Linked DNA regions of Homo sapiens: region 1 is linked to region 2. Evidence: promoter capture Hi-C in 16 types of primary human blood cells and fetal thymus (Javierre and others, 2016). All regions are on one chromosome and are shown on one strand. Each heading gives the region's core, a stretch centred on a gene start or on the middle of the fragment in contact. The rest is flanking DNA. Distances are from core to core; before and after follow the strand shown.

The links. Contacts are between HindIII fragments. The CHiCAGO score rates a contact against its expected background, and 5 or more counts as called.
Region 1: the fragment with the promoter of ACOT6 here is called in contact with the fragment with the promoter of PNMA1 in region 2 in 2 of 17 cell types (M1 macrophages and naive CD8 T cells); the score reaches 6.2 in M1 macrophages.

Annotation. Positions count from the first base shown.
Region 1 is chr14:73,610,294-73,614,032 of GRCh38, reverse strand. ACOT6 (acyl-CoA thioesterase 6) reads right to left here and starts at 1,516. Exons shown (of 3, transcript NM_001365788.1): 1 at 1,001-1,516. The coding sequence starts at 1,461. It also overlaps a transcript of HEATR4 not described here. RefSeq lists a silencer at 1-180 and enhancers at 1,256-1,305, 839-1,338, 1,356-1,405. The HindIII fragment of the contact is 17,987 bases long and covers 1-3,739 here.
Region 2 is chr14:73,712,191-73,715,633 of GRCh38, reverse strand. PNMA1 (PNMA family member 1) reads left to right here and starts at 1,250. Exons shown (of 1, transcript NM_006029.5): 1 at 1,250-3,443. The coding sequence starts at 1,995. The coding sequence ends at 3,056. It overlaps MIDEAS (mitotic deacetylase associated SANT domain protein), which reads left to right. Exons shown (of 13, transcript NM_001367710.1): 13 at 1-512. RefSeq lists enhancers at 785-854, 1,795-1,854 and silencers at 1,075-1,354, 1,535-1,704. The HindIII fragment of the contact is 4,676 bases long and covers 1-3,443 here.

The DNA.
Region 1 (3,739 bases), core at 267-2,766, 100 kb after region 2:
TTTTTTGTAGAGACAGAGTTTCACCATGTTGCCCAGGCTGGTCTTGAACTCCTGGGCTCAAGTGATCTGCCCACCTCAGCCTCCCAAAGTGCTGGGATTACAGGCCTGAGCCACTGTGCCCGGCTCATCATTTTTATATGGTAGAGGTTTAAGTCAGGAATTTAGTTAGAAGGGATTAATCAGGAGTCTTCTTTCTGGGCTACCTTTACCTAGCAAACATCCTGTGTTTACTTAGACTAGGGTTCCTCAACCTCAGTAGTACAGACATTTTCAGCAAGATAATTCTTTGTTCTGGTGGTTGTCCTGTGCATTGTGGAATGTTTAGCAGCATCTCTGGCCTCTGCCTGCTAGATGCCAATAGCACCTCTCCCTTCAGATATGACAACCACAAATGTCTCCAGATATTGCCAAATTTCCCCCAGGGAGGGCGGCTAATCATTGCAGGTTGAGAACCACGTACAGCATGTTTATGATAGAAGGGAGAGGACTGTCAGGCAGTTTTGTGTGTGTTTTTAAACAATTAAAGGGCATTGCCAATACTGTGGATTTTAGCTTCTTTGGAAGTTTGATGTGAAAGGAGGCAAAAATCCTTCTTGCACATCAGCTTAAGGTTTTGCCCATATCGTATTCAAACAAAACCACATGGCTGGCACATAGTGGCTCTCAATAAATATATAATAAGTTGAATGCACTATTCAGCACATAGCTAAAGTGGTGGTGCCTCCAGGGAGGGACGTGAAACTTAAAAAGGAAAGACTGGAGTAGCTACTCAGGAGGCTGAGGCGAGAGGACTTGAGCCCAGGAGTTCGAGGCTGCAGTGTGAGCTACGATCCAGCCACGGCACTCCAGCCTGGGCAACAGCGGACGCCCAGACTCAGAATCCATGACAGACTCTGGAGCGAAGGAACAAGTTCAGGGATGTTCCACAATCACGCGATTCCCAGGACAGGAAAGGGGCCGGTGGGGGTCGCAGAGCTCGACCAAATTCTGGGCAGACTACTCATCCGGCGGCAGGAAGAGCGCGGCGCGCACCGGGCCCGCGCGCACCGGCTCGCGCCGCACCCCCGGCCGGAGAAAGTCGCGCTTGTTCTGCGCCAGGCACAGCAGCCGCCCGGGCTCGGTGTCGTGGCCGTCCAGCACTTCCAGCTCCACGGCGAAGGGCGTCCGCACGTCGCGCTTCACCAGCCGCACCAAGGCTTTCTCGGGCTCCAACGCCCACAGCAGCCCCATGGGCTGGAGCCCCGCGAAGCTGCCTCCCAGCGCGGGCGCGCGCTCCAGGTCCAGCTCGTCGCGGGCGTCGGCACGGTAGCGCGCGTGGGCCCGGAAGAGCGCGCCCTCTTCGTCGCGCAGGGACGTGCGCAGCGTGACTGGCTGCTCCGGGGCCAGGCCGCGCACTGCGATGCGCAGCGGCTCGTCCCAGCAGCAGCGGCCCGCGGGCTCCAGGATCAGCGTCGCTGCCATCCCAATCTGGGTAGAACAGGGGCGACCCAGCTCCGCGGAGTCAGTGGGCGGGCCTGGCGGCTTTGCCGAGCGCTGGAAAGTAGTCGAGGGCGGAGCCCTTAACACTACTCCCATTGGTTGGACTTGGGGACAGGCTCCAGGCCGCTGCGTGGGGCGCCTAGAATTTGTGCAAATACACCAGTGTCCCAAATGAAAGAGTATCTGCTGAAATAAGAGTTAATGACCAATCCGGCCGGGGGCGGTGGATCACGCCTGTGATCCTAGAACTTTGGGAGGCCGAGGTGGGTGGATCACACCTGAGGTTAGGAGTTCAAGACCAGCCTGACCAACAGAGTGAAACCTCATCTCTACTGAAAATACAAAATAGCCAGGTGTGGTGGCGCATGCCTGTAATCCCGGCTACTTGGGAGGCTGAGGCAGAAGAATTGCTTGAACCCAGGAGGCAGAGGTTGCATTGAGCCAAGATTGCACCATTGTACTCCAGCCTAGGCAACAAGGGCAAAACTCCGTCTAAAAAAAAAAAAAAAGAGTTAATGACTATTCCTGCAATCCAATGTGGTGAGTGTCGAAATAGAGGCACAAAAACCACTGAGAGCTAAAGGATTGAGAGAGATACAGTCCAAGAATCTAGATTTTGAAAAAGCATCCCAGGTGATTGTACTCAGGTGACCCCTTGGAGAAACATGGTCGTAATCCGTCCTTTACCCCTCAGTCCCTTACCAAGCCTTTTTTCCAGGGCTAATGGTACCTGGAGCAAAGCAGATGTTTAGGGAGGCAGACCTAGCCGAGTTCTGGTCTGACCCTGATCCTTAATATTAATACCTGGTGATCTTTAGCAAGAAACATAACCCTCTAAATTCAGTTTTCTTATCTGAAAAGGCTTATTGTGACCATTAAATGGGCTAATGTGTAAAAACACTACACTGACACACCTGTAGGTTAGTACCCAGTGAAAGTTTTGTTTTGTTTCTTACCTCACAAATCTAATCACTGGCAGAGTCCATTTTGGGTTGTATGCATACAGAGTTCTGGCAGTAAGCAAGTGGCACTCTCAGCCTGTGTAATTGAGGAGAGTTTTATAAAGGTACTATCTACAAAGGCATGGGCAAGATTTAAAAACAAAAACAATGAAACAAGATTCGGTGTAGAACCCTGAATCTGAAGGTTCAAGGGAAGGGGGCAGTCTGATAGGAGTTGTACCTTTTTTAGAAGGAACCTATGGTTTGTGGCAGGAAGGAGGAGACTATAAGTCCCTTGACTCTCCTCTTGTTTTTCAGTATCTTGCTAATGCCTCTCTTTGGCCAAACCCAACCACACAGCTCAACCTAGCTGGGAACATAGCAGGGTGGAGAAGGAAGAAGAGCATATAGTGATGCCCAGCTCAGTAAACATGTATAAACTGAACAAAAAGGTATTAGACTCTATGAAGCAAGTTCACTGTATGCTGGTTACCAACTTGTCTGAGTCCAGTGAGAAAACACATTCATATATTTAATACAACAATTTACATGAACTGGATTTATTACTTACAGATAGGCAGCAAAGAATGACAGAAGCCTAAGAATCATTGGAAACCAGTCCCCCAAGGCTCAGGAATGCTGCCTGGGTGATGGAATCTCATGTGTGTGTGCCCCACTTGCACTGCAGCTGCCCTGAGTTTTGTACTCTGGGGTCATGTGACTGCTGGGTTAAAGCATTGAAAGACATCCTGTTTGTAGGGAGGGGCTGGAATAGAGCCAGGGCTATTCCAGCCAGTCCGTCCCTCTCTCAGGATGTTACATTCCCAGCACGTTCTATGCTTGAGAACTACTAGTGAGAAAGAGGGGAGAACTGAGTCAGTCCAAGGCCAACCAGAGAACTGCCCTGCAGTCCATCCCCAACCCAGATACCTCCTTTAGTAAACCTAGTACATTTCATATGCCCTCCAGACCCCCAGGATCTGGAGGCAGAGGTTTGTCTGATCATATTAATATGGCACCTTGGTCGGGCACGGTGGCTAATGCCTGTAATCCCAGCACTTTGGGAGGCCGAGGGGGGCGGATGACTTGGGGTCAGGAGTTTGAGACCAGCCTGGCCAACATGGTGAAACCCTGTCTCTACTAAAAATACAAAAATTAGCTGAACGTGGCAGCACGCGCCTGTAATCCCAGCTATTCAGAAGGCGGCGGCAGGAGAATTGCTTGAACCCGGGAGGTGGTGATTGCAGTGAGCCGAGATCTCGCCACTGCTCTCCAGCCTGAGCGACAGAGCAAGACTCCCTCTAAAAGAAAAAAAAAAA
Region 2 (3,443 bases), core at 1-2,500:
TTTACAGGAAGTAGGGATATTTTTATAAAACAATTGTGTCCTCCCCACATTTTGCTATGTTAATATTTGCTTCTAACAATTTGCAGCTGTTTCACTTTTTCCTCATTTGTCTCTAAGTTGAAGGCTTTGTTGGAGGGGACAGAGCACAGGAACAGCCTTGACAGTCTGTAATTATTGTACAGATATTTTAATAGCATATAAATAAGTATATTCCTTTTATTTTGAAACAAAAATGATCAGACACTGCCTTTTGTGTGTTTGCTGCCTGTGGCATCCTTTTTTAAAAAGACTGTTACATATTAAAATAGTGTACATATATAAATATTACCTCTTTTGCTGTACAGTTGTGATAGAGACTGAAGATTTTATTTTTTGTGTGCTTTTTATAAGAAAAAAATTAATACACTAAAGAATCTTGCTGATGTGATTGTAATGTACCTATGTAACTTATTTACTTTTGAATGTTCTTCTGTATCTTTAAACCTTTTATTAAATAAGGTTTTAAAAATTCAGAGTTGAATGCTTTGTTCTCTTGGGATTTTCACCATCTGGGGTTGATGTAAGTGCGCCTTGTCTTGCTTGCAGGGAGATTACTCGACATTTTTGAACCATAAGGATTCTCTTTTAGCAGCCTATTGTCAATGATGCCAGCCAGGAAAAGGAAAATAATACACTAATGTTTGCCTGGCTAAAAGATGACTCAGTAGACACAGACAGATTTTTACAAAATTTTAGACAAGAAAAAGTCTAAACTCAGTGTCTCACACAAATACACAGAAATGGCGCACTCCGACATTTTGGCTTCATTGGGATGAAATATGCAGGGTGCACAGTGTGGTCAGGGGCAACGGGAAGCCAGGGTTCTGAGGAGAGTATTTTCACGTGCAGGGTGGACTGGCTGAGCAACCCGAGTAGACAAGTCCACCATGAGGGATGCATTTCCAACAATATCATCTTAAATCCACTCCAGGATTGGGTTATTATTTTTAAAACACGGTGCTTAGTAGTAGTTGTTTACTGTTAAAATGCTAAATTATGAAAAAGGAAATGCGCCATCAGAGAAACAAATGCCCGAGCCCCTCGCTGGCTCCACGGCAACCGCTCGACCCCCGCGAGCCGCCGGAGCAGGCGTGCCTCGCGCCGGCTGGGACACCGTTGCCATGGAGACGCCCGAGCAGCTCCGCCGCGGGGGCGGGACGGGGCGGGGCGGGGCGGACGCCGCTCGCCGGCTGGCCCCATCCTCCACTGCAGCAGTAACGTCGCGGCGGGTTGCGGGTAGGACTGGACGCCAGAGCAGCCGCGCAGCGCCTGAACCGCTGCGGGCCGCCGCGGCCGCCCCTTCCCACCCTCGCCTCTGCTGTCTCCAGCCTCGCTTCTCCGACTTTCCTGCTCCTCTGCTGCCTTCGTTTCTGGTCCTCGGCCGTCCTCGCCGCCCGCCCAGAGGAGTCCCCGCGCCCGCCAAGAAGCCGCTTTCCGCTGGCCCGCAGCCGCCGCGACTTCGGCACAGTTTCTCCCTCTGGCTAGTCTCCCAAACGGCCGCTCCTCGCCCGCGGGAAGACCAGGCTGCGACCGCGAACGCCCGATCCTCTCCAGGAGCCGCAGCGAGCGCCCGGCGGCCACGCCCCGCGACCACACCCCGGCGGCTCTCGGCCCAGCGCGCCTGCCTTCGCCGCCCGCCGTCGCTCCTCGCCCGCTGCACGACGACGCGACGCCCCTGCTGCAGGCGGCGGACCCGACCGGACCCAGACCCAGACGCAAGATGGCGACGGCCGCGTGACTGCCTCAGCGTCCCCGAGCTCGGCTCCGAGTGCACCTACGGACTGACTGTGGGGGCAGAGAAGGGCGAGATCAGGACTCTGTCTTTGTTAATCGTGACTGCATGAAGGTCGCCTCCCTCGGGCCTACTTGGTGGGAGTGTCTGGTATTGTTCTAAGGCCAGGAGCACGGTGAGCCACAGTCTGTTGGTAGAATTTGGCGTCTTGATAGTTGAGAAAATGGCGATGACACTGTTGGAAGACTGGTGCCGGGGGATGGATGTGAACTCCCAGAGAGCTCTGTTAGTCTGGGGCATCCCAGTGAACTGTGATGAGGCTGAAATCGAAGAGACCCTCCAGGCTGCGATGCCCCAGGTCTCCTACCGAATGCTTGGGAGAATGTTCTGGAGGGAAGAAAATGCGAAAGCAGCCTTATTAGAGCTCACTGGCGCTGTAGATTACGCCGCGATCCCCAGGGAGATGCCGGGCAAAGGAGGGGTCTGGAAAGTGTTATTTAAGCCCCCAACTTCTGATGCTGAATTTTTAGAAAGATTGCACCTCTTCCTAGCTAGAGAGGGGTGGACCGTGCAAGATGTTGCCCGTGTCCTTGGGTTTCAGAACCCTACTCCGACCCCGGGCCCAGAGATGCCAGCAGAGATGCTAAACTATATTTTGGATAATGTTATTCAGCCTCTTGTTGAGTCCATATGGTACAAGAGGCTGACACTTTTCTCGGGGAGGGACATCCCAGGGCCTGGAGAGGAAACCTTTGATCCCTGGCTGGAGCACACTAATGAGGTCCTAGAGGAGTGGCAGGTGTCCGATGTAGAAAAGAGGCGGCGGTTGATGGAGAGTCTTAGAGGCCCCGCCGCTGATGTTATTCGCATCCTTAAGTCCAACAACCCCGCGATAACCACTGCCGAATGCCTGAAGGCGCTTGAGCAGGTGTTTGGGAGCGTTGAGAGCTCTAGGGATGCCCAGATCAAATTTCTGAACACTTATCAGAACCCGGGAGAAAAATTGTCTGCTTATGTCATTCGTCTGGAGCCTCTGCTACAGAAGGTGGTAGAGAAGGGGGCCATTGATAAAGATAATGTGAACCAGGCCCGCCTAGAGCAGGTCATTGCCGGGGCCAACCACAGCGGGGCCATCCGAAGGCAGCTGTGGCTTACCGGGGCTGGGGAAGGGCCAGCCCCAAACCTCTTTCAGTTGCTGGTGCAGATCCGTGAGGAGGAAGCCAAGGAGGAGGAGGAGGAGGCTGAGGCCACCCTTCTGCAGTTAGGCCTGGAAGGGCACTTCTGAGTGCCAGGAAAGGCAGCTTTAGTGCAGACCTAGATCACAGCTACTTTTCTTGTCCCTGTGGGGTCTTACAGATGTGTCTCTGAGTAGTAAAGGCTTAGCCTTGTTCTGTTTTGTTGTTTTTTGGAGGGGAAGGTTAGTCAGGCCTGAGTATTCATGTAACATTCTAAAATTGTGCCAGCGAGCACCGTGAACGACTGCAATGCAAGCGGGTCTTGCTGGCTAAAATGCCAGGTAAAGGGTTGGTTGGACACAGCGCTTAGTGCACGCTGTCATCATGGACATCATAATCAGTTGTGAAAAACACGCGAACCTATGACACTTCTTATTCCACACTGAATGTGAAATTGCATGTTCAGATGTTTACTACGAGGCCTGGCTCACAGGAAG